Regions from separate parts of the Homo sapiens genome. Here all the other regions are linked to region 1. The links are contacts of gene promoters, found by promoter capture Hi-C in blood cells and fetal thymus (Javierre and others, 2016). All regions are on one chromosome and are shown on one strand. Each heading gives the region's core, a stretch centred on a gene start or on the middle of the fragment in contact. The rest is flanking DNA. Distances are from core to core; before and after follow the strand shown.

What was found. Contacts are between HindIII fragments. The CHiCAGO score rates a contact against its expected background, and 5 or more counts as called.
Region 2: a contact is called between a fragment that was not itself captured here and the fragment with the promoter of TBC1D23 in region 1, in 1 of 17 cell types (total CD8 T cells). The highest score is 5.3, in total CD8 T cells.
Region 3: a fragment that was not itself captured here is called in contact with the fragment with the promoter of TBC1D23 in region 1 in 3 of 17 cell types (naive B cells, total B cells and monocytes); the score reaches 9.4 in naive B cells.
Region 4: a fragment that was not itself captured here is called in contact with the fragment with the promoter of TBC1D23 in region 1 in 4 of 17 cell types (neutrophils, non-activated CD4 T cells, fetal thymus and 1 more); the score reaches 6.7 in neutrophils.
Region 5: a contact is called between a fragment that was not itself captured here and the fragment with the promoter of TBC1D23 in region 1, in 14 of 17 cell types (naive B cells, naive CD8 T cells, total B cells and 11 more). The highest score is 19.5, in naive B cells.
Region 6: a contact is called between a fragment that was not itself captured here and the fragment with the promoter of TBC1D23 in region 1, in 3 of 17 cell types (neutrophils, non-activated CD4 T cells and fetal thymus). The highest score is 7.3, in neutrophils.
Region 7: a contact is called between a fragment that was not itself captured here and the fragment with the promoter of TBC1D23 in region 1, in 7 of 17 cell types (total B cells, fetal thymus, total CD8 T cells and 4 more). The highest score is 9.3, in total B cells.

What each region holds. Positions count from the first base shown.
Region 1 is chr3:100,258,884-100,262,677 of GRCh38, forward strand. TBC1D23 (TBC1 domain family member 23) reads left to right here and starts at 2,109. Exons shown (of 19, transcript NM_001199198.3): 1 at 2,109-2,188. The coding sequence starts at 2,136. RefSeq lists enhancers at 1,513-2,181, 1,917-2,406, 2,182-2,850. The HindIII fragment of the contact is 5,201 bases long and covers 1-3,427 here.
Region 2 is chr3:100,741,398-100,745,191 of GRCh38, forward strand. It overlaps TFG (trafficking from ER to golgi regulator), which reads left to right. Exons shown (of 8, transcript NM_006070.6): 7 at 3,436-3,534. Among named protein-coding and RNA genes, the nearest start is that of TFG, 34 kb to the left of the region's middle. The HindIII fragment of the contact is 199 bases long and covers 1,504-1,702 here.
Region 3 is chr3:99,788,401-99,792,194 of GRCh38, forward strand. It overlaps COL8A1 (collagen type VIII alpha 1 chain), which reads left to right. Exons shown (of 4, transcript NM_020351.4): 3 at 2,280-2,610. The coding sequence starts at 2,283. Among named protein-coding and RNA genes, the nearest start is that of CMSS1, 28 kb to the right of the region's middle. The HindIII fragment of the contact is 1,999 bases long and covers 698-2,696 here.
Region 4 is chr3:100,719,692-100,723,485 of GRCh38, forward strand. TFG (trafficking from ER to golgi regulator) reads left to right here. Exons shown (of 8, transcript NM_006070.6): 3 at 284-367. Among named protein-coding and RNA genes, the nearest start is that of TFG, 12 kb to the left of the region's middle. The HindIII fragment of the contact is 1,488 bases long and covers 1,801-3,288 here.
Region 5 is chr3:99,804,223-99,808,016 of GRCh38, forward strand. No RefSeq gene overlaps it. Among named protein-coding and RNA genes, the nearest start is that of CMSS1, 12 kb to the right of the region's middle. The HindIII fragment of the contact is 4,083 bases long and covers 1-3,794 here.
Region 6 is chr3:100,697,121-100,700,914 of GRCh38, forward strand. No RefSeq gene overlaps it. Among named protein-coding and RNA genes, the nearest start is that of TFG, 10 kb to the right of the region's middle. The HindIII fragment of the contact is 5,167 bases long and covers 1-3,794 here.
Region 7 is chr3:100,590,916-100,594,709 of GRCh38, forward strand. No RefSeq gene overlaps it. Among named protein-coding and RNA genes, the nearest start is that of ADGRG7, 17 kb to the right of the region's middle. The HindIII fragment of the contact is 1,719 bases long and covers 1,108-2,826 here.

The DNA.
Region 1 (3,794 bases), core at 859-3,358:
CCTGGCTACTTGGGAGGCTGAGACGGGAGAATCACTTGAACTTAGGAAGCAGAGGTTGCAGTGAACTGAGATCATGCCACTGTACTCCAGCCTGGGTGAGAGTGAGATTCTGTCTCAAAAAAAAAAAAAAAAAAAAAAAATCCGCTAGAAGACACTATCGCTAAACAATTTTGGTTGAAATCTTGTCCCCAATGGGTTATACATCACTAAGATATTGACCCTATCTAGAACTGGCTCCCTAATTTGTGAGGCCTAGTGCAAAATTAAAACCAGTGGCTCCTTGTTCCCAAATTATTAAGAATTTCAAGATGGCAACACCAGAGCATGAAATCAAGCACAGAGTTCTTCTAAGCATGTGGTCTCATGCTATTGCATAGACTACATGCCCATGAAGCTGGCTCTGGCTCCATTAAAGAACATAGAAGTCAGAACTTTCCACTTTATTTTGACAGAATAAAGAACTGTTTAAAAATGTCAAGTGACATATTTTTAATGGGAAAATATTTTACCAGAGACTATAAAGCAGTTGCTGATTTAATTATACTCAAAATGAATCATAATTGAGGACTAGAATCTTCTTAACCAGTGAGCAACTGCTTCTCATGTCAATGACTGAATAGGTTTTAAAACCATTTTCTGAAAAGTTTCTGAAAATCTACTGGCAACAATTGAAGGGACCCAGGGGAGGTCCTGAATATTAGAATGGTAATGTGACCTAGATTCACGTCTTTTATTCTTTTTGATAGAGGGCATCTACAGTCTCATTCTATGTTAAAAGAAATGTTCCCTAACAGAGAACTGAACATTACAGAGATCCGGGCCTTGGAAGTGGGTGCAGTACCATGCAGATCTGTATTATTTCCCTTTAGGGAAGAGAGTGAACATGTTTTTGGTTGTAAATGAGATAGCTGTACTGTTTTGTATCTATTTAAAACAAATAGTTTTTGAAACTATGAAACATTTTAGATACCTAAGTATAGACTCTATAAAGAACACTGGCCACCTATGTGGCCACCTTGGGGCCCTTAATAAATATTTAAAAATTCATGGAAACTCCTCCCTTTCCCTGAATGTAACTGCCATTCCGAGTTTTCTATATATCATTCTCCTGCATTTTAAACTCATATGGATCTATTTTAAATATATTGTCTTTTAAACACCAACTATAAATGATACCATACTTTACCTATCCGTCTGCAATCTGTTTTGCTCATTTAACAGCGTATTTTTCAGATGTATCCATATTGTTACATGCAGTTCTACTTCATCACTGTTGTTTTCAGGGCTTGCAAAAGCGTTTCTTTAGGTCCATCCTCCTGAGCGTGTGCTCACCCCAAGGCCCCGGCGGTGGCCAAGTGTCCGCCCATGCGGTGTAAAGGGGAAGTGGAACGCGTAGAGAAGGATTTTGGCAGCTCTGCTTGCCTGGAATTCCAGTCCTAGAATTCTAAATTCGGACTTGATCTTCCAGACTGTTAGGAAGATATATTTAAGGTAGGAGGCTAGAACGTATCTCCTTTAGTATATAGCTTCATTTACAACTTTTAAATATTCAGTCAAAAAGTATGTGGGCCTTCATTTACACTTTTGACGGGGCCTCACAAATAGGGGTGGTCTGCCCCTTTCCTTACGTCCCACTCTTTCTTCAAATTAAATTGCTACAGCAGGAAATTACTGAACTGTGGCTCTTCTCCTACGTCCGCCTTCCCTATGTCAATTCCCATTTCCCTTGCTTTCTCCAATAGTTAGGACTGTAAATTCTAACTTTGTTAATTTCGACGCCAAGCTGGAATGAAGACGCTAAGTGGACGCTAAAAAGACACGCTGTTTGTCACACAAGGCCTCCAACTGGGACGGCGTCCACCGCGCCCCGCCCCGCCCGCGGCACCGTGGCATCTTGGGACATGTAGTCTTTGGAGGGGCAGCTGCCTCCACCAAGTCTCCTCCCCCAAGACGCTGCCTTTCGGCCTCGGGACGCCGTGACGTTGCGTTCCTCCAGTCCCTTGCCACCTCCCTCTTTCTTCCCCTCTGGGGAAGCTCAGTGCTGGACTTCCGAAGACCTTTTACGACATTGAGTCTCGGAGTTGGTCTCAGCGCCGGATCCACTTTTCGGCAAAGTGACGTGGACGTCAACAGCAATGGCGGAAGGAGAAGATGTGCCGCCGCTGCCAACGTCGAGCGGCGACGGCTGGTGAGTGAAAGCCGGGGCTAATTTCCAATGCCCCTTTATTCTTCCTTCTCACCATCTTGCCGGTCCCCGAGGAGCCGTCTGGCGTCGGCATGGAACGGAGAGGCCGGTCCTAGGCGAAGTCCGGTGCCCTGCCCTACCCCTCTGCCAGCTGGGTGCCCCCTGCCTGCCTGGTTCTGCCCAAGGGACTGGGGCGGGACTCCCAAGGAGAGGGGTGTCATCCAGGTGCTGGGCCTCAGAACGGTCCTCCTGTGTCGTCTGTCAGTCTCCAAAGTGTGCTGGAGTGGGTGGCTTCAGGGCTGGGTTTGGCCGGAGTCCTGGCTGTGGGAGTTGGAGTAGGCTGAAGAAGGAAGTTTGTTGGATGCAGATCTGAGTCACTAAAATACAATGTGAAGAAAAGACGTTTTGAAATGACCACTGCGACCTTCGCCTGAGGGTTCAGAGGTTGACCCGAGGAGAATCCCTCCCACTTAGTTGGTATACTTTTTTTTATTCTGGCTGTTATCTCGTTTTGCATTCCAACAGTTTTCATCGTTCGTCTCCTTCACGCAAGTCATCTTTTCCCCTACTACCACATTTCTCACAGCTCGATTTCTGAGCTTTGGATGCAGTGTGGGACTTTGCTCTTACTGCACCCAAGCTGTTGCATGCTTACCTGATTTATACTCGGGATTGTGGGGGAAGACCGCCAATAATTTTTTGGTAAACTGCTCACCCAGTGTTAATCTTTGGGAAAGGCTTCTACTTTTGAAATAGTTGATCTCACGATACACTGTTAGGTTGTACAACATCATTTTTTAAAAAGGGACCTTTAGAGGCTTGTCTAAATTTTACAGTTGATCTAAGTGTATTGACCACATGTATTAGTTTTGGATTTGCTTGTTCGTTATATTGTATGTGTACAGCTCATGGGCACTTTAAAAATAATACAGGACATTGATAGACATCGACTTTAATCCCAGAGGAAAAAAATGGAAATCGTTGAAAGGGATAGATAATTAGTAATTAAGAAATTCAGCTCTCCATTAGCAGACATCAAACATTACCGTAGCGCTGGGCTCTCCAAGGTGTCAGAGGAAAACTTCATGGTGATCTAGATATAGTTTTTTTTTCTTCAACTTGCTTATGTTGGAGTTGGGAAGGTGTAACAAGGTAAAATTAATCTTATTCTTTGTGAGTGTGATTCAAAGTGTTACGAGAGGTTGGCGGTGGGGGCTGGGGCAGTTGGAGTCACTGGGGGAAAGCTTCATGAAAGCAGCAGTGTTTCAACTAGGCTTTGAAGAATAAGTAGGATTTAAGCCCCAGGGCTGTCTAATAGAAGCCACATATTGTAATTTAAAATTATGTAGTAGCAGCATTTAAAACTGAAAAGAAGGCTGGGCGCGGTGGCTCACGCCTGTAATCCCAGCACTTTGGGAGGCCGAGGCGGGCGGATCACTTGAAGTCAGGAGTTCCAGACCAGCCTGACCAACATGGTGAAACCCCGTCTCTACTAAGAATATAAAAATTAGCCGGGCGTGGTGGCGCGTGCCTGTAATCTCAGCTGCTTGGGAGGCTGAGGCAGGAGAATCGCTTGAACCCGGGAGGCAGAGGTTGCAGTGAGCCGAGA
Region 2 (3,794 bases), core at 353-2,852, 480 kb after region 1:
AAAAAGTAAAAATTTAAAATTAAAAGAATAGAAAAATGCTTATAGAATAAGGATATAAAGAATAAATATTTTTGTATAGTAGCACAATGTACTTTAAGCTAAAGTATTAAAAAAGTTAAAAAATCAAGTTTATAAAGTAAAAACATTACAGTAAGCTAAGGTTAATTTATTGAAGAAATGGAATTTTAAAAAATAAATGTAGTATAGCCTAAGTGTATAGCGTTTGTAAACCTTTAGTAGTGCACAGTAATGTCCTTGGCCTTCACATTCACTCAACACAAGTACCTCACTTGGAGCAGCTTTTAATCCTACAAGCTCCAGTCATGGTAAGTGCCCTAGGCAGGCATACCATTTTTTATCTTTTTTGCCATATTTTCACTGTACCTTTTTTATGTTTTGATATGTTTAGATACACAAATAATTACCATGTGTTAGAATTGCCTAAGTATTCAGTACAGGAACATGCTCTACAGGTTTGTAGACTGCTATGTACCATATAGCCTAGCTATGTAGTAGGCTATATACATCTAGGTTTGTGTAAGTATACTATATGATTATACAGTGACACAATTTTCAGAACCTACTCTTGTCATTAAGCAATGCATGACCATATTTTTTATTACTCAAAACATTGCTTACTATAAACAATGTCTGCATTTTGCTCTCTTCATATATCCTATAGATCTCTCAAGTATGTGAAGAAGTTCATCCTTTTTCTTTTTTTAAACAATTAAACAGACTTCTTAATTAATTTTCAGAATACTGTGACAGTCCCATTTGGACTTGAATGAGGTGGGTTTAAAGTAAGTACCGTAAATCCTCACTTAACATTGTTGATAGGTTCTTGGAAATTGTAACTTTAAGTGAGATGACGTATGAGGAAATCAGTTCTACCATAGGCTAATTGATATGAGTAAGTTGAGTTCCTACAGCATATCTCTGATCACAAAAATACCCCCAGACTTCTAGATAAAGACTAAAAACAAATGTGAGTTATAGATACATTTAAGAAAGATTAATAAAAACAAATAAGATAATGATTTATGCAGTTATTCCAATTCAGGGTTGTGGGTGGCTGAAATCTATCCCATCAGCTCAGTAGCAAAGTGGGGACCAACCCTGACAGGTTGCTATTCCATTGCAGGGTGCATTGCAACCACACACACACCCATAGTCGTTCAGACTGAGATCATTTAGACATGCTAAGTAACCTAACATACACATCTTTGGGATGTGGGAGGAAATTGAAGTGCCCAGAGAAAACCCACACAGACTTGGGGAGAATGTGCAGACTCTACACAGAACAGTAACCCCAACTGGGAATAATTTTTTTTTCCTTCTCAGTGTTTTAACGAAACAATGTCGAACAAAAGATGTTATTTGAGGATCTGCTGTGTAAAAGGAATCTTGTGTAGAGATATAATAAACCTCTGAAATTTTTAACTCTAGGGATGTTTTTCAAAATCAATTTATAGCAGTTTATGAAAACATGCAAAAAAAAAAAGCTTTATGAAGAGTTGTACCCTATAAATTTTTATTGAGGGGAATAACTGTGGTTTTGACCAGGAGTTCCTTACTCATTGATGACCACAGTCTACTACTACGTGGAACCTTAATCTCAGCCTTTTTTGATGATGCCCAAGTTAATATTTATATTGTTTTGTTCATGGGATAATATATGCAAAATGACTTTATAAACTAAAGCTTTGGAGTTATGCCTGAGTTCCAGTGATGGTTCTTAGCTCTTCATGGTTCTGTTCTTAGCTATTGACTGCAGGTAAGTTGCTTAATTTTTCTGTATCTGAGATAAGGAATACTAATATGGTTGAATTTTTTTAAATGTGTTTATTGCCTGTTTGCTTATTTTTTTATTGTGGAGTTAAGCCTTCTAATTTTCAAGAATTAAGAGTTCATTGTTATGTGCTATACGTATTTATTCCCCTTGATTATATTTCTGTACCTACTTACCTTTTTATTTTAGATTCTGGTCACTTCTATTCCGAAAGTTAGTTATGAAGTACAATCCAGGATTAAGGTGGCATCTAAATTTGGTTAATTTCTGTGCTACCTTTTATGCTATTAGTCTAAATCATTAAGAAAGCATTTAAGAAACTTTTGTAAGCGTTTCTTTTTTTTTCTTGTCATATTTGGGAATAGGATAAATAGCTTAAAATAGTTGAGCTGATTTTTATTTGTATTCTTTTTTTATTATAAAGAAACATTTGCTAGGAAATAAGCTGGATATAAACATAGTTGTATCTCCTTTAGTGCTACCCAGCACTAAAAACTTAGACACGTATAGGGCTGAGCAGCTGGTATAATAGAGTGGGCTCCGTCTCATTTTCTAAGCCTGTGAGTCCTAGCTGCCTACTGCAGCTCGATTTGAGTGGGAGTTGATATAATGTCTTTTTTTTTTTCTCACTTCAGCAGTAAGTATCTGGTTTGCTCATAGTCTTTTGATTAATAGGTAGTTTGAATATTTTTCAAAGAATCAGCCAACATGTGATTATTTTAAAGATTTAAATACCAGATAGATATTAAAATGCAAGGTTATTGCTACTAGATATTACATCTAGCTAAATCAACCATTGTGAAATAATTGAGAAGTAGAGATAATAAAGACATAAACCAATAAATCTTTGCTTGAAAATCACAGGTATGGGAACAGATTGTGAGGACAGAAAAATAAAAAGTAAAAAGAAAAATCATAGGTAATAAGTGTCTAAAGGGTTTCTTCATAGGAACAGTGGTTGTTGACCCCAAATAGGACAAATAGGACTCCCATGTTCAAGAACACATCACCGTTGTTAAAAAGGTCTGCCATTATTAAATAGTGCAATGAAGAACCATTTAGACTTTATTAGAGTCCACGTTATTGGCAAAAGATGTTGGATATTCATAGAAAATCAAACTTGACAAATTCCAAAAGTGTCTTTCAGCTCTGGAACAAAAGATGTCATATAGTTCCTTGCTACCAAAGAGTTTGTTCATATGGTAATAGAGGCCCATACCTTTAGAGGGCAAATACAGTGCTTTAGGAAGGACTTAGATGATATAAATGGTATTTGTCCCTTTTCTCATTTTTATTTACTGATTTTCAACTCACTTGGCTTTTAATGAACATTAGCGTTACTTATCTGTTGGCAGCTGGGTTGGAAAACATTTGTTTTTCTAGACTTTATGAAATGGTAGCCACTGGTGTTGCACTTAATGTTTATTGCCAGTTAGTTCTCTGCAGTTAATCCACAGCAGAGGAATCACACTTCTAAAATGGTTCATTCTCTTCTTCATAGACATTTAAAGTTGAACAAATACTTTCTTGTATATTGTTACTCTGTTTGGATGGAGAGGGAATGTATATGTATCTTAAAAATATTTCTCTTTGCCACATTAAACATGCCTTTTTTCCTTGTGTGTGTGTGTGTGTGTTTTCAGGTCAGATGTACCAACAGTACCAGCAACAGGCCGGCTATGGTGCACAGCAGCCGCAGGCTCCACCTCAGCAGCCTCAACAGTATGGTATTCAGTATTCAGGTGAGCAGGTGTTGAAAGGGAGTTGGCTCATGGTTTTTTGTTTCTATACTCATTAAACTTTAAGTTCTTAATTCCTTGATTTGTAGTACATTGATATAATAGGTATTAAGTTTTTATTAGGGGAAACAACATTTGTTTTATTTATTTTTAAATATTTTACATTAATATTGTAAATCAACATTTCAGTTTTCTGGTGGGGAGATAAAACTTACAGTAGATGATTCTGCAGTAACTTGTAGTATAAAAAGTTTTTAATACAA
Region 3 (3,794 bases), core at 447-2,946, 470 kb before region 1:
AATCCAACATATCCACTGAATTGATGGAAGGCTGAAGGGCCAAACATGCTAGCTTATTATTAAAGACTTCACCACAAGTCTGGGGTTCCATAATTAAATTCATTCATCCCCAAAAGTAGAATTAAGTACCAGCTTATACATTACCAGATATTACCACACATTTCTGGTATGGATTAACACTTTCAGATCTCTAGTAACTGTCTTACAGACATTGAATGTTAGAGCTAGAAAAGACTTAAGGGAACATCCAAGTCATATTTTAATAAATGAAGAACTTAAAGAAATTTGTTTAGATGCACATAACTAGACAAGGAATAAGTACTGATCTTTGAGTGAAAAAAGCAAAAAATAGAAGTGTGTATAGTATACTGCAATTTATGTTTGAAAGGGATGTATATGATATGTGCATATCCACAGACTATCTGAAAAATATGAGGAAAAATTGTTGCTTCAAACATAAGGGATTTTAGATACTGGAGAACAGAAGTAGGAGGAAAATTTACTTTTTACTAGATATCCTTTGCTACTCAATAACAGTTTACACATCTGTCACCCCCACTAAGAGTACAAACTCCTTGATGGTAAGGCCCACCAGCCATATTATATTCATCTTAGTAATCCAAAATGGGCCTAGCAACTGTTTCTTCATTTTTTCCAGGGAAAAAATGATTTGTTAGTGTATTTAGAAAGATTGTAAAGCTTGAATTTTGTGATAGGGATTCATTTTAAATATTTTATTAGGTGTTTTATTAACCAATCCTTTTGTAGCCTGTATACACTCTTGGCATTACCCTGGAATAGGATATTGCAAAATCAACGCACATTTTCTAAGAAGTAGAAAACTATGATCCAGAATTAAGTAAGGCAAAAGCAAAGAAAACAACTCTCAAGAAGATGGAAATTGAATTATTTACAGACAGAAGTTTCTTCAAAGTTTTCCAGAAGATACTTACATTAAAAATTGTGAGAAATTTGCCACTTCTCTCTCTCTCTCTCCAGCATTATGATGACATGTCCCTTAAGATTCAAATTTTCATTAAGTCCCTTTATACATTGTGAGCATGGAGTTCGTGTATGCCCAGCATTAGAACTACAGAGGGCAGGGAGTGGGCAGGCAGAATATTGAACAGACCTAAGTGTGTATCACACTTGCCCTCTAGTGTGCATTTGCCAACAATGCACTTCTCTGGGCTGTCTGGTTTTAAGCCTAGGGCGTTTCCAAACAGAGGTCTTTTCAAGCTGGTTTTTATAAACAGATAAGCCCCATTTATATTAATTCTGTTTACTGCTAATTTGTAAAGAGTGCTATTAATGGGCTTAGAAGCAGCGTATTCTTATTAATAGTTAAACATCTCCCTCTTATTCATACAACTCTTGCTTTGTAAACTTTCTTTCACAAAAGGACAAAGATAGACTTTAATGGTCCAATTAACCAATTTCTAAACTAATGAATTCATAGTATTTTAATACAAGAAATAAAGGTGCATAATTATGATAGTGATTTTTAAAATATTTCATACTATTACATGAAGAAGCATTTTCTCTTCAACTCAGAAGACTTCTGCAGGCTTTGTTCCTGTTTGCTCTTTACATTTACATTTATTTGTGACTACATCAAAGCAGCCCTCATCTGGCAGATGAAAAATCTCTACTGTAGCATAAAGCCTATAAATTATCAACTGTTTCCATTTAGAATATAATTTTGGCACTTATTAACAAAGCCTAACCAGGACTGAGGTTTATTCTAGCTCGTTTTATCATTCTCTGTGCACTGCATTCGCCTCATGGTCCAAGATGTGTGGTCTGTTTCCAGTAACATATCAGCAATCCAGCCAGAAGGAAGGAGGAAGGGGAAGACATATCCACTCCTTTTTAGGATTCTTCCTGGAAGGTACACCCATGACAACTATACACAATTGGCAAGAATGGCTGAAATGGCCCTGCCTGGCTGAAATGTCTTCATTCTGGGCTGCTCTATTCCCAGGTGAAGACGGGAAAACAGGGCAAGAAAGGCAGAATCGATATGGGGGACAACCAGTAGTCTCTCCCATAGTCTATGTTCCTACCAATTGCCTTTATTTGACAGATTCCACTATTCTCTATTTTTTGTTTGTTTGTTTTCTATAGAAAGTAGCATTTTCCTTTTCATTTGACTTCTATCATGAAGTTCTGATGTTAAAGACTGTTTCCCTTTTTTTTCCCCATTCTATCTCTAAATAAACTCAAGTCACTTGGCCTTGCAGAGTTTCACCAAGTTGGTGCATTGGTTCCTCCCACAGGTGATGGCTGTGCTGCCTGGCCCTCTGCAGCTGCTGGGAGTGCTGCTTACCATTTCCCTGAGTTCCATCAGGCTCATTCAGGCTGGTGCCTACTATGGGATCAAGCCGCTGCCACCTCAAATTCCTCCTCAGATGCCACCACAAATTCCACAATACCAGCCCCTGGGTCAGCAAGTACCTCACATGCCTTTGGCCAAAGATGGCCTTGCCATGGGCAAGGAGATGCCCCACTTGCAGTATGGCAAAGAGTATCCACACCTACCCCAATATATGAAGGAAATTCAACCGGCGCCAAGAATGGGCAAGGAAGCCGTACCCAAGAAAGGCAAAGGTAACATCATACTCCCAGGCTGTTATAAAACAACAGCTTTCCAAATCTCTAAATTATGGGATCAGAGGGGGAAGATAAATTTTAGAAGCTTTAGTTTTAGAATTTGTTACTGGCATTTTTAAAATGCCTACTGTGTTCTAACCATATTCTTGAAAACTTCAAGCCTTAAAGACACAGATAAGACTACCATTTATGTTTTGCTTTATTATTTTAACTAGCATCAGATGAAATAAAATATATTAAATCACAAATAGTCTATCCCCTTATTGTTTATTTATTCAAACATTCAGCAACTATCTATAGTGAGCACCTATTTGTGTCAGGCTCTGGGCCAGATGCTGGGAGCTAAAGCAGTGAAAAAAAAGAAAGGTGACAAGTCAGTCTTCTGAACTAAGAGAGCAATGTTGTAAGGACCTGCTGTGTTAAAAGAAAAGTCACAGGAAAGCATTTTGCGAACTAAGTATTAGACAGGTGCAAGTGTTCTTAATACTACTCTAATTACATATGTCAATCAATAGATCAACAGAAGGAAACTAAGAGTATAGACTGCATCTAGGGATGACACCTGAAAATCTCTCCTGTTGCTTTCTTGGCGTATTTATTTAGCACCAACAAAATGCCCCTCAGTGTGACAGACACTTGACGATAAATTCATTTGGTTTGTCTGGAGTTCTCAGAAACCTAGTACTTGCTGCATCAGAGCAGCAATTACCTTTGAGGAAGTGGAGCCAGTCCCACTAGTCCCTACAATGGCAGGAAGCTCCACCTCTGGAGAACTACTGGATTTGGAACTTAGAGGCCTAGATGCCTGGATGCCAGAAATGAGAGAGACCTAGTCATTTGACCTTTCAGAGCCTATTTTTCTTCATTTGTAAAATAAGATTGTTGAGAGAATCAGTGACATACATAGTAAGTAAAGTGCTGAGTAAATGCTAAAGCACCATAGGAAATTGGAGTTGCTACAACTGCTCATTCAACAAATCCTCAGTAAGAACAGAGTGTGTTCCAGGCTCTGTGCTAGACACCAGGGATTCCTGATTCATCTCTCCTACTCTTCCCCAGATAACTCCTCAATACAGTAACTACACAATTCGCTGGTTAGAAATAGCATGCCTGAATAGTACTATAATCATATCTATTCATGTAAAGAAAGTATTCCTGACTTTCTTCTCTTTAGGAGCTAG
Region 4 (3,794 bases), core at 1,295-3,794, 460 kb after region 1:
TGACTAATAAATATTAAGGCACTTAATGGATTCACTTTAGCTGTATTTTTTCATGTGGATATGTGTAAATACCTTGCCATAAGAGTAATAAGCAAAATTGATTTAGTATATTTTTGAACAAATGCATTTTTGCTAGACCTTTAAAGTTTAAGGTTTCTATGGGAGAGTCCAACTATGTTCTACAATCTACATTTTGGATTTTTAATTTTTACTAGTTTACTGCTTATACAAATCTGAAAATTTAAAAAATTAAAAAACAACCTTTTTTTTTTTTAAATTCCAGATGGAGATCTTATAACAATTTTTGATAGTTCTGACCTTTCCTTTGCAATTCAGTGCAGTAGGATACTGAAACTGACATTATTTGGTGAGTAGTAAACTTTCTAATGAATTTACTATTTTATTCATTGTATTTTAAAGATGTTTGGCTTTTTTCCTTTTAAAGACTCAGGTAAGCAATAACTTATTCAAATATTATTACATTTATTTGTGTTCAGGTAGTTGTTTTAGATTACTTGAAGCTTATGGCTGTGTATGTTTTTAAGAAAATGATAGAAGTTTAATTCAGTAAGAACAGAGTGTTAAGTATGTTTTTTTTGAAATCAGGTATAACTTAGGTATCCCTGGTGCAGTATTATAGTTTTAATTTAGCTGTATTAGAATTTTTAAATTGTAATTATCTTCCTTCACATTACAGTATGTTGTTACTTATTATCAGGGCTTAACATGTAAGTCTGATACTTGAAACCAGTAGTCGCCAACCTTTTTGCACTGGAAACTGGTTTCGTGTAAGACAGTTCTTCTATGGAAGGGGGCAGGAGAAGGTTTGGGGATGAAACTCTTCCACTTTGCATGTGCAATTCACAATAGGGTTCACACTCCTATGTGAATCTAATGCCACTGCTGAACTGACAGGAGGCGGAGCCCACCACTTAACCTCCTGCTGTGCTGCCCAGCCCGGTTTGGTTCCTAACAGGCCACAGAGTAGCACTGGGTTGGGGACCCTTGCTTTAGACAGTATTTCCCGAGGGGTACTTAAAGATTAAAAATAGTTCTGATAAAAACCAATAGAAGACTAATTTTAATCTTTTAGATTTTTTCTTTTAGATCTTAATAGATATGCAAGGCAGAACTCTTAAGGGACAAGATAGAAAAGATTACAGAGTTAAATGGTAGTGTGATTATGTGAAAAATAAAATGTGTACACTTTTTCCGGCTGTTTTGTTGTTTTGTTTAGCATTAATTTTATTTTTTTTTAATTTTGTTGCATGAAACTTAGAGTTCAGTGTGAAATATGATCATGGTCTATTGATTTAATTTGTATCTATTTCATCTCCATCTAGGAAGGATGAATATGAATAATCAGAATTTAAATGTTAATAACAAAAACTGTTTAAAATTATTTAAAATAAAGGTATCTTTTTACAGTATTGAATGTAAAATACTTAACTATTGACTAGGCATAAAGCAGATTAGATAATCTGAAGACCCTTACTTTAAACAGGATCTGCTAGATAAACTTACAAATGTGTTTTCTGAATTCTGTAACTCAGCTTGCACAGGAAAGTAAGGGAAATATCCAGGGAACAAAAAAGTAGAGGGAACTAAAGGCCTGATGTACCAAAAGCTGAAACTTGGGGTGTTCTTGGTGGTGATAGTAGAGATTTTAGCCTGCATAATTTAAGGAATTGCCATCTGGTGTCTACATGGTGTAGGCCCTTGGTCCTAGTCCCTCAGTAGGCCATGCTTTCAAAAAGAATATTTTAGAAAAGTCTACCTTGATACAGGGAAAGTCAAGGAAGCTTAACTCTTATACCTTGGGCCGTCAGGGGCTTGGGAAGTCTCCCTTCAGGATTCATAATTGTGGTCCTTAGGTGAGTTGGGTTTAAATTTAAACTATCCATGTAGTTTGGTAACTCCCAAGCCCAGATGTTACCATTTTAGAAAAATCTCAGAAGAAAGGCCAAAATCTCTCTTGAGGGGTATATTCTCAATCCAGGTCACATAGGTTTCTCACAGACAAAACCGTAAGACACATGAAGCTGTCAGGTAAGCAAGAACCACTGGACACAACTAATAGCAGGATTAGATTTTCAACAACTTCAGTTAAGATATGTGATAGTCTACAAAATTAAAAGTTATTTAAGACATAGAAGAAGGAATAAGAATATAAAAGCAGCCGGCCGTGGTGGCTCACGCCTGTAATTCCAGCACTTTGGGAGGCCAAGGCGGGCGGATTGCCTGAGTGCAGGAGTTCGCGACCAGCCTGAGCAACACGGTAAAACCCTATCTCTACTGAAATGCAAAAAATTAGCCAGCTGTAGTGGTGTGTGCCTGTAGTCCCAGCTACTTGAGAGGCTGAGGCAGGAGAATTGCTTGAACCTGGGAGGTGGAGGTTGCAGTGAGTCGAGATCGCGCCACTGCACTCCAGCCTGGGTGACAGAGTGAGACTCCATCTCAGAAAAAACAAAACAAAACGAGAACATAAGAGCAAGATGCTATTGTATTATGGAAAAACAATAAACAGATTTTATAAAGAACTTAAAGTAACTTGGAAATGAGAAATATAATCATTGAAATTAAATACTAAGTGGATAGGTTAAACACATTAGTCATAGCTAAAAAGAGAATTAGTGAACTGAAAAGGAAATCCAAAGAAATTACAGAGTAAAGCACAAAAACACAGGCAAAAGAGAAGTTGAAAATGAGAACATCCAGAATATTTCTATTCAGAGTTTCAAGAAGGAGAGAATGGGAGAGTGGAAATACATTGAGGTAATGACTAAAGAAATTTTCAGAGTTATATAAAAGCTATAGACCCTCAGATTCAGAAGGCACGGGGAGCCTTGAGCAGGGATAAGTAAAAGTAAATCCCCACTGGACATATTGTCATGAAACTGGAAAATGTCTTAAGACAGAGAGATTACCTTAAAAGTAGCCAGAGAGAATAAGACTGATCACATATGAAACAATTAGACTGTTAGTAGACTTCTTCATAGTAATAATAGAGGCTAAAAGACAGTATTATCACAGTTGCAAACAGTAAAGAAAAATAACTAGAAAAGTAGCATCCTATACTCCACTAAATTTCACGAATGAGGAGAAGTAAAAATACTTTGAAAGACTGAGAATTTACCACTCATGGACCCTTGTTAAAATAATTTTTAACAGTGGTCTTCATCAAGAAGGAAATTTAGTCCAGAAGGTGGTGAAAGATGCAAGAAGCAATGTGAGCAGATAAACTGTTGCTTGGTCAGTAGGCTATGCTTTCAAAAACTATTTTAGAAAAGCTTTTCCATTGATACAGAAAAAGTCAAGGAAGCTTAACTCTTAAACCTTGGGCTGTCAGGGGATTGGGAAGCACCAATGAAATTTATGTGTACGTTTTAATGAGCATTGATTGTTACAAAATTAATAGTCTTAGGGAATAAAAACAATTTGGGACAAAAATACTGGGCAATAATATGTAAGAAAGGAAGGGATGATAGGAATAAAAATATTTTAAGGACTTATTTGGGAGGAACATTGTAATTACCTTTAGATTTTTTTAATTGCATACTACATATGCAGAAGTATGCATGGTGTACATGTAAGAGTTATAATTGAAAAATTAGACATTGTCAGGAAAGGAGAAAAAAAGAAAACAAGGGTACCTGTTCAGTTCAGTAGAAAGTGGTGGCGGAATAAAAGAGGTAGAAAGCTCAATAGATAGAACAGAATACTAATCACAGTACACAGAAATTGACTACATATATCGGTTAAAATAATCTCTTAATGGAATTTTAAAAAAAATC
Region 5 (3,794 bases), core at 727-3,226, 450 kb before region 1:
GAGAGAAAGGGGGGAGGTGCTACACACTTTAAAACAACCCCATCTCATGAGAACTCACTCACTATCATGAGAACCACTGCATGGGGACAGTGCTAAATCATTTATGAAAAACTGCCTCCATGATCCAATCACCTCCCATGCCCCACCTCCCACATTAGTGCTACATTTTGACATAAGATTTGGGTGGGGACACAGATCCGAATCCTATCATTCCACTCTTGGCCCCTCCCAAATCTCATGTCCTTCTCACACTGCAAAATCCAATCATGCCTTCCCAACAGCCCCCCAAAGTCTTAACTCATTCCAACGTTAACTCGAAAGTCTAAAGTCCAAAGTCTCATCTGAGACAAAGCTAGCCCCTTCCATCTATGAGCCTATAAAATAAAAAACAAGTTAGTTACTTCCAAGATACAATGGAGGTATAGGCATTGGGTAAATACTCCCATTCCAAAAGGGAGAAATTGGCCAAAACAATTGGGCTAGAGGCCCCATGCAAGTCTGAAACTCAGTAGGGCAGTCCTGAAATCTTAAAGATCCAAAACAATCTCCTTTGACTCCATGTCTCACATCCAGGGCACACTGATTCAACGGATGGGCTCCCAAGATCTTGGGCAGTTCCACCCCTACAGCTTTGCAGGGTTCAGCTCCCAGAGCTGCTCTCAAAGGCTGATGTTGAGTGCTTGTAGCTCTTCCAGGCAACAGGTGCAAGCTGTTAGTGTATCTACCATTCCAGAGTCTTGAGGAAGGTGGCCCTCTTCTCACAGCTTCACTAGGCAACACTCCAGTGGAGACTCTGTGTGGGAGCTACAGTCCCACGTTTCCCCTCTGCAATGCCCTGGTAGGGGTTCTCCATGAGGGCTCTGCCCCTTCAGCAGGCTACTGTCTGGACATCCAGGCTTTTCCACACATCCTCTGAAATCCAGGTGGAGGTTCCCAAGCCTCAACTCTTGCACTCTGCATACCCACAGGCTTAACAGCATGTGGAAACCACCAAGGCTTATGGTTTGCACCTTCTGAAGCAGTGGCCCAAGCTGTACCTGGGCCCCTTTGAGCCACAGCTGGAGCGAGAATGGCTGGGATGCAGGGAGCAGTGTCCCAAGCCTGCACAGGGTAGTCAGGCTCTAAGTGAGGCCCACAAAACCATTCTGTCCTCCCAGGCCTCCAGGCCTGTGATGGGAGGGGCTGCCACAAAGATCTCTGAAATGCCTTGGAGGCATTTCCCCCATTGTCATGGCTATCAGCATGTGCCTTCCTTTTAGCTATACAAATTTCTGCAGCCAGTCTGAACTGCTCCCCGGAAAATGGGCTTTTCTTCTCTACCACATGACTAGTTTGCAAATTTTTCAAACGTTTATGTTTTGCTTCCCCTTTAAACGTAAGTTCTAGTTTTATGTCCTTTCTTTGCTCATACATTATTAGCATAGGTTGTTAGAAGCAGCCAGGCCACATCTTCAACACATTGGTGCTTAGAAATTTCTTCTGCCAGATACCCCAAATCATCACTCTCAAGTTCAAAGTTCCATAGATTCCTAGGGCAGGGGTACAATGCCACCAGGTTCTTTGCTAACACATAACAAAAGTAACCTTTGCTCCAGTTCCCAATAAGTTCCTCACTTTCATCTGAGATCTCATTACCCTGGACCTCATTGTCCATATCATTAACAGCATTTTGGTCATAACAGTTTAACAAGTCTCTGAGAATTTCCAAATTTTCCCTCATCTTCCTGTCTTCTTCTGAGCCCACCAAATTGTTCAAACCTCTGCCTGTTACCCAGTTCCAAAGCTGATTTCACATTTTCAGGTATCTTTATAGCAATGCCCTACTCTTCAGTATCAATTTTCTGAATTAGTCTGTTCTTGCACTGCTATCAAGAAATACCTGAGACTGGGTAATCTACAAAGTAAAGAGATTTAATTGACTCACAGTTCTGCAGGCTGTACAGGAAGCACTGGGGCATTAGATTCTGGGGAGGCCTCAGGGAGCTTCCAGAGGGGTAACAACTGCTACCATTTAGTGAGTGCCAACCATGTGCCACAAACTGCTTTAAATGTTTTTATGTATTGACTTAGTTACTCCTCATAATAACTCTATTATTAGCTCCATTTTACAGCTAAAGAAATGGAGGCACTGGGCATGGTGGCTCACACTGGTAATCCCAGCATTTTGGGAGGCGAAGGCACAAGGATGACTTGAGCCCCAGAGTTCAAGACCAGCCTGGGTAACATAGTAAGACCCTGTCTCTACAAAAAATATTTAAAAATTAGCCAGTGTGGTGGTGTGCACCTGTAGTACCAGCTACTTGGGAGGCTGGGGAGGAAGGATCCCTTGAGCCTAGGAGTTCAAACCTTCAGTGAGCTATGACTGTGCCTGCACTCCAGCCTAGGCAACAGAGTGAGACCCTGGGGGAAAAAAAAAGAAAGAAAGAAAGGAAGAGAGAAAGACAGAAAGAAAGAGAGAGAAAAGACAAGACAAGAAGCAGAGACATAGTAACTTGTCCAAGATCTAATAAATGACAATGCCATGATTTTAATGCAGATATCTGGCTTCACAGTCCATGCTCTCAGGTATTATGCCAGATCGCCTCCTCAAGGAAGGAGACAAAAGTTCTTAGCTATCTAAGAAGCAAACAACTGCCAGTGAGGGTTCAGGAGATGACAGGGCTCTCTGTTGTTTCTTGATTATTGTGCTTACCAGAGACAACAGATATAGTCAGCTACAAAAAGACTATGACAGATGTCATGGTGACATTCCCATCCCTTAGAATATATAAAGGCAGCAGGTTTTGAAAAGGAAAGGGACCTACCTCATACTTATTAGGAAGACTACTATCAAAACAAACAAAAACCAGATAATAACAAGTATTGGCAAGGATGTGGAGAAACTGGAACCCTTGTGCACTGCTTGGGGGGAATGTGAAACTGGACCACTGTGAAAAACAGTATGGTGGTTTCTCAAAAAATTAAAAATAGAGTTACCATATGATCAAGCATTTCCACTTCTGGTATATACCCAAAAGAATTGAAAGCATGAACTCAAACATACATGTGTATATTCATGTTCATAGCAGCATTATTCACAATATCTAAAAGGTGGAATTAACCCAAGAGGCCACTAATGGATGAATGAATAAACAAAATGTGGCCTATAATGCAATGGACTATTATTCAGCCTTAAAAAGGAAGAATATTTTGACACATGCTATAACATGGATGAACCTTGAGGACATTATGCCAGTCACAAAATAACAAATATTGTATGACTGTACTTATATGCAGTACCTAGAGTAGTCAAATTCATAGAGGTAGCAAGCAGAATGGTGGTTGCCAGTGGCTCGAGTGAGGGGGGTTTTTGTATAATGGGCACAGAGTTTCAGTTTTGCAAGATAAAAAGAGTTCTGAGGATGAATGGTGGTGATGGTTGCACAACAATGTGAATGTACGTAATGCCACTGAACTAAACTGTACTTAATATACTTAAAAATGGTTAAGATAATAAATTTTATATTATGTATATTTTACAATTTCAAAAAATGATGTTAAAAAGTAAAACTAAAGGGTAAACTATTTATCAATAGGAATAAACCATAGGAGGCAATTGGAAATGACTTCCAGCAGCCTCCCTTACCTCCAAGTTCACTGCACTTCTCACCAATAATGCATCAGGGGCCTAAGCAGCAACATTTTGGTGGTCCAAAAACCACAAATCCCAGCTCTCCCAGGAACACTTCTGCAGACCATTATGGAAACTGCCACTTTCTGTGCCTCCTCTACTTCAGTGGATGTTACCTTCTAGA
Region 6 (3,794 bases), core at 361-2,860, 440 kb after region 1:
ACCTTGCACTCATCCTTCAAGCCCACGTGTGATTTGATTTTGCCGGTACACTGGGTAAGAACTCAGGATACAGAAAGCTATCACACTGGCCCTCTGCCCTGGCGATAAGGCAGAGGGCTTATTGAACTGATTAACACAAGCTGTCTGCAGATGGCAAAGCTGAAAGCGCACACTGTAACACACAACCACCTGGGCTCTGGGAGTGGCAGACACCCACCCATAGACGGTGCTGTGGGGTTGGGGCCCAAAGGCTTTCCCCACGACCTCTTCACCTGCCTGTCTGCATGTTCCGCCTAGGAGGCAGGGAGCCCAGCGAGCCACACCCCTGTCACATGCCCTGTGACGGGGATCAGGGAACTCTATCCTTTCACAGGGAGTGCTAAGAATGTGTCAGATATTCTTTTTCTCTCTGTTTCCTGGGTCTGTGTGCTTCTGTGTTTGATGTCATTCTAAAATTGGGTTTAGGTGGCTGGAAATTGGCTATTGGCATCCCTAATCTTATAGCCTAATGATCTAACAGGAAGAGACCTTTTTTCTCTTAGTATCCACAGTAAAATCTCATGGAATGACTCTAATTCTAGTTATCATTCCAGCAGGAAAACAGAAAGCACATTAAGTATTTAAAATAAAATTTTAAAGCAGACAGTTGGTTTTGTGGTGTTTAACAAGCTCAGAGACAAATTGGAGAATGAGGCAGGAAATGTAGAGATTAGCAAAATAAGAAAGCAGAAACCTCTTTTAAGCCAGAGAGATAAAGTAAGAAGAATTTCCATAGCCAGGCCTGCGGCTGAAACCAGGGCGGGCCAATGGTGGGAGCTGCAGCCAAAAAGAGGCAGCCTGCTCTACCCAGAAAGAAGAACCGAAGAAGAATCCTGGCTTTCCCTTTCCTCCTGTCCTGCAGCCTCCCATCAACATCTTCCATTGGCTGTAGCCTGCTGAGCCCGGGCCAAGTCCCCCTGTATTACACAATACAACAGGTGCAAGGAGAGGAGAGAACTGAAGGCAAACAGGCCCAGGACTGGCATATCTTGCTTGGGTAGTGTACCCACAGGCATTGTGTTCCGGGAATATTGCTCCAGCTTGGGTCACATACCCACTATGAAGTGGACAGATGGAAGATGACTTGGTTGATAGGATAGCATGGACTGGAGAAAGGACAATTATATCAGGGAAGGGATGTTGGCATCAAAACATTAAAGAACTTCTACTACACTCCCTGACAAAGTACAAGTACTCCCTGGGAAAGAACTACTTTAAAACTCGTCAGTCATCTCCCTTGTCTGAGCAGGGTTTGAATAGGGTCGGTAGGGAGATCAAGAAATTAGGGAGACCAAGAAATTATTTGGTGCCTTGGAAGTTGAGGAGCAAAAAGAGAAATTAGAAGAGCAGAAGGGTGACTTACTTTAAAAACAAGAGATTGCAGGAAAGGGAGACTCAAGGCACTGCAGAACTCATTTTTGTGATATTGTATATGGGCAGCTGTGCCTTTCTGTGTTTTCTGGTTTATTTTGTGTGATAACAGTGCCCAATAGCCTTTATTTTTTATTGTGGTGGCATGTGCAGTTTCTTTGGGGAGCAAACCGTCCTGACCTTTGGATTTCCTTTTCTGAGTCTTAATTGACAATTCAGAGTTCACTGTTAAATTGTCAGAGTTTGGATTGCTTTTTCTCTTATCTTTCCTATTTTAAAGTTTATCTTGCCTCTCTTTTTTTTTTCTTCCTGTCACCAACAAAGGGAGATCGTTCTCAAGCTCATTGCTATCAGCTTATCATTGCCTCATTCAGAAGAGCTTGGCATTTTTTGTAAGTGTTTGGGAAATCTGAGACAGAAGTGTCAACTGGATTTTACCAGTCTGTCAAACACCGGAGCTCTCTGGCTCTGTGGAAACCCCTTAATGTAACCTTTTAGTTCCTATGGCTCCTCAGATGAGGTCCAAGACTGTTCCACACTGGGGGTTGCGGGGAGGGGGGTTACTGAAAGAGGAAACTGCTGTAACAATTTCAGCTTTAAAAAATATTCACATACAACTCAATAGCAAAAAAAACCCAAAATCAAAACCATACAAAACAAAAAACCTGATTAAAAAATGAGCAAAGGACCTGAGTAGACATTTTCCCAAAAAACACATGCAAGTTGCCAACAGTTATATGAAATGATGTTCAACATCACTAACCATCAGGGAAATGCAAATGAAAGCCACAATGAGATATCACTTCATACTTGTTAGAATGGCTATGATCAATAATGTTAAAAGATAACAAGCGTTAGCTAGGATGTGGAGAAAAGGGAATCCTTTTACATTGTTGGTGGGAATTGAAATTGGTATACCCACTATAGAAAACAGTATGAATGCTCCTCAAAAAATTACAAAGAGAACAACCATATGACCCACAATCCCTTTGATGGGTATATATCCAAAGGAAATGAAGTCAGTACTTCAGGGAGATATTTCTGCTCCCACGTTTATTGTGGCATTATTCATGATAGCTAAGATATACAAACAACATAAGTGTCCATTGAAGGATGAATGGATAAAAAAATTATGATACAGGCACACACACACACACACACACACACACACACACACACACACACCATGGAGTACTATTCAGCCTTAAAAAAGGAGGTAATGCTATTTGTAATAACATGATTAACCTGAAGGATATTATGGTAAGTGAAATAACCCAGACACAGAAAGAAACGTACTGCATGATCTTACTTATATGTAGAATCTAAAAAGAAGTCAAGCTCACAGTAACAGAGAGTAGAATGGACTGGGACTGGGAAGTTGGGGGAAAGGGGAGATGTTGGTCAAATGGTACAACATTCAGTTATAGGATAAATAAGTTCTGGAGATATAATGTACAGCATGGTGACTATAGTTGATAACGGTGTATTACACATTTGAAATTTGCTGGGAGCAGAAAAAGCAATATTCACAAAGCGTATCTTTTACAAAAGCAAAATCCATAATTCCCTAACTTTCACTATTGTCTGTTTTTCCATAATCTCTATGCTGTTTGTCTGAAAACATAAGAATTTTACATAACTAATGACAATACATGATTTGATTTTCACTTATTACCTAGTTATGCAGTCTTCTTAATGATTACATAATATGATATAATTTACTAAGTTGTTTCCCTAGTATTGTCTATTTAGATCATTTTAATATTTAACATGTAGTGACACTGTGATGAATAAACTAGTACATGTATTTTTTCCTTTCTTTTTCATTATTTCCTTAAAATAAATTCTCTTGACTCAGATAAATGTGCCAAATTCTCTTGACCAGATAAATGTAAGACCCTAGTGTATATTGGTATATTGTTTAGAAAACATTGCAAGAATGTATAATGTCATCAACATTTGGAGGACCATAAACTTTTTTTAATACAGTTGTTTGTTGCAGTATTTTCTTATTTATAATTTTGGCCCATTTTCAATTGAGGTATTGTAATTTTTTCTCAGAAATTTGTGTTTCTTATCTATTATAGATCATAGCCTTTTAACTATTACACTTGGTGAAAATATTTCTTCCAGTTTATTGTTTTCTTCTCTTTTTAGAATAATGAAATGATTACTCTGGATTTGATTGGAAATGTCCAAAAGATTAATAGAGCGTTTAGGATTTTCTGAGTTTATATGCCCTTACCCAGGCAGAATAATTTTTCATGTTAGATTAAGAAATATGTTAAGAACTATGCAGAAACTTCTAAAATGTAGAACAGTGGCATAAATATGCTACGTGAGATCAAATGACTTATGTATGACACGTGACATCTCTAACCCTT
Region 7 (3,794 bases), core at 717-3,216, 330 kb after region 1:
AAAATTGTGTCTGTCCCCCACAAATTTCATATTTTGAAGTCCTAACCCCCAGTACCTTAGAAGGTGATCTTATATGGAAATATGATAATTCCAGATCAAATTAGTTAAGATGAGGCCATACTGAAGTAGGGTAGTTTCCAATTTAATATGCCTTATGTCTTTATAAAAAATAAAAATTTGGACACACACACACACACACGTGGAAAACACCATATGGACATAAAGGAAGAGATTGGAGTGATATGTCTACAAGTCAAGGAATGCCGAAGTTTGGCAGCATACTATCAGAAGCTAACTAAGAGGGAGGCATGGAACAGATTCTCTCTAACACCTTGAAAGGGAGCATGGCCCTGACAATACCTTGATCTGGAATTTCTAGCCTCCAGAACTGTGAGACAAATTTCTGTTGTTTAAGCTGCTCCGTTTGTGATACTTTCTTATAGCAACCTTAGCAAACTCAAACAACCCCATTACTTTACATTAGTTTTAAGCTTAATGTTTTTAGATTTCAGAATAAAGCATGGAAAATGGTACACTGAGGGCAATACGGCAAATGCCAGGGATGAAGATATTATCTACCCCAAGTTTTATTACCAGCCATAAAATGCATTATCTTTGTTGAGAAACTTACTGACAACTTGGCTTAGTTATACATTTATACTATTTTATGGGCTCACCAGGTTGGCAAGTGTCCTTAACCAGTATTTTTGTCATTCCAACATTCCTCTGGGAGGCAATGTTTATACTTGTAAATCATTTATTAACTAGTGACTTCTGCATTGTTGTCTTTGGTGTCTTCTAATGTTTTATACGCTTGCTAACTAGATCACAAACTCGTTGAGTATCCTTGAATATCATACATTATTATTAAGCTTTCTGGGGATTATGGGCCTTCATATCCTGTAAAATGCATGGTTCTTATTGCAGAATGGCCCCTGTATTAGTTCTCCAGAGAAACAGAACCAATATACAAATGTAGGCTTGAGGGGAGGATTTTAAGGAATTGGCACAAGTGGCTGTAGAGGCTGACAAGTCCCAAACCTGTGGTACTTTCTTAGAGCAGCCTTAGCAAACTAATACAATCTTATTACTTTAACATTAGTTTTAAGCTTCATGTTTTAGAATTCAAAATAAGGCATGTATTTGAGACAACAGGCTGGGAAGAGTTGATGTTACAGTTCAAGCCCAGAGGAATTCCTTCTTCTTTGGGAAAGGTTAGCCTTTTTTTATTAAGGCCTTCAACTGGGCTGGGCATGGTGGCTCATGTCTGTAATCCCAGCACTTTGGGAGGCCAAGACGGAAGGATTGCTTGAGCTCAGGAATTCGAGACCAGCCTGGCAATATAGGCAGCCTGTGTCAAAAAAAAAAAAAAAAAAAAAAATTAGCCAGTGCCAATAGTCTCAACTACTCGGGAAGCCTGGGCGATTGAAGCTGTGATGAGATGATTGTACCACTGCACTCCAGCCTGGGTGACTGAGTGAAAACTGTGGAAAAATAAAAAAATTAAAAAAAAGGCCTTCAACTGATTGTATAATGATATGGTTTAGATGTGTGACCCCTTCAAATCTCATGTTGAAATGTGATCCCCCATGTTGGAGGTGAGCCTATACGGAGGTATTGGATCAGGGGGCAGATCCCTCATGAATGGCTTAGCACAACCCCCTTGGTGATAGTGAGTTCTCTGAGTGCGTGAGATCTTGTTTCGGAGGGTATCACCTCTCCTGCTGTCACTCTAGCTCCTGCTAGCTCCATGTGACATGCTGGCTCCCTGTCGTCTTCTGTCATGATTGTGAGCTTCCTGAGGCTCTCACCGGAAGCTGAGCAGATGTTGGCACCGTGCTTCTTGTACAGCCTGCAGAACCATGAGTCAATTAAACCTCTTTTCTTTATCAGTTACCCAACCTCAGGTATTCCTTTATAGCAACACAAAAATGGCCCAATACAGATGAGGCCCACCCACATTACCAAGGGTAATTCACTTTACTCAAAGTCTACTGGCTTAAGGCTGGGCAAGAGTAGCTCACACCTGTAAACCCAACACTTTGAGAGGCCGAGGCAGGTGGATCACATGAGGCCAAGAGTTCGAAGCCAGCCTGGCCAACGTGGCAAAACCCTGTCTCTACTAAAAAATACAAAAATTGCTGGGCATGGTGGTGCATGCCTGTAGTCCCAGCTAATCAGATAGCTGAGGCATTAGAATCACTTGAGCTGGGGGCGGAGTTTGCGGTGAGCCGAGATCATGCCACTGCACTCCAGCCTGGGCAATAGAGCGAGAGTCTGTCAAAAAATAAAAAAAATCAAAATCCAAAAAGTCTACTCACTTAAATGTTAAGTGTTAATTCTCATCTATAAAATACTTTCATCTTCATCTCTGATCTAGGAGGACATTCAAGACCCAGGCTCCTTTTGTTTGATCGTTCTACCATTTTTTGAGATGTCCATGTCGGCATTCAAGACTATAGAAGGGGAAAATAGAGTGGCTGGAATTTCTAATGTGATGTGTAATTTCTACTGTGATCTGGAAATCTGGAAGGTGCAATCATCCTTTCTGCCTATTTTCCAATAGCCTAAACTTAGTCATATAACTACACTTTGCTTCAAGGGAGGCTGGAAATAATCGTGACTTGCTTGCAGGCCATTAGCTCCCCTGAAATTAAAGTTCTTTTTTTTTTTTTTAAAGAAGGAAAGGATAGATCGTAGGTTATTTGGTAGTCTCTTCCAAAACACTCAGGCAAATTAATAACATCCAAAATTTGAAAATCTTGAACAAATGAGATGATCAGGGGAATCATCAGTGGAAAATAAGGAATTTTATAAATGAGGTAAAGCTTCAGCTCAGCATTAGGATTTTAATTCAGTTTATTAGAACTTCTGTTACCAGGCTATTTGTAAATTAGAGAAAATGTAAGAGACAATGTTAACAAAATTAAATAAAAAATACCTTCACAAAAAATCTGAATAAATTTTGACCAAATATCTGAATACTATGGCCAAGCCAAGTTGACACATAAAATTAATCATCACAGCCTCCAGTGAATCCTGCCATCTTGAATTTGTGCTTTTTGTAGCATGAATCTGGACTGGTCTTGTGATCATTGGTTTTTAAAATTTTTTATGGATACATAATGGTTATGCATGTTTATGGAGTACATATGATATTTCGACACAAGCATGTAATGTGCAATGATCAAATCTAGGTAGTTGAAATATCCATCATCTCAAACATTTATCATCTGTTTGTGTTGGAAACATTCTAAGATGATTCTTCTAGTTATTTTAAAATACATGATAAATTATTGCTAACTATAGTTGCCCTATTGTGCTACTGAGCATTAGATTTTATTCATTCTATCTAATCATATTTTCGTACTCATTAATCAACTCCTCTTTATCTCCCCCTCCCCACTACCCTTCCCACTCTCTGGTAACCACCATTCTACTCTCTACGTCCATGAGATCAATTGTTTTAGCTTGCACATGAGTAAGAACTTGTCACATTTGTCTTTCTGTGCCTGACTTATTTTACTTAACGTAATGTCTGCCAGTCTCATCCATGTTGCTGCAAATGACAGGATTTTATTTATTTTTTTATCTTAAGGATGCTGAATGGCTTAAGAGTCACTGTTATTTTCTTTTATTGATTTATTGATTTCAATTGTGATATAGATCATTAGTTTTCTATTAGGTTTTTTATTATGGTCATATGGCTTTATAAAGCAATGCTATTCAACTGATGTTCTGCAACATAAAGGGGAATTGGTTTATTGTGGCTTTTGATGTTTCTAGAAATATTA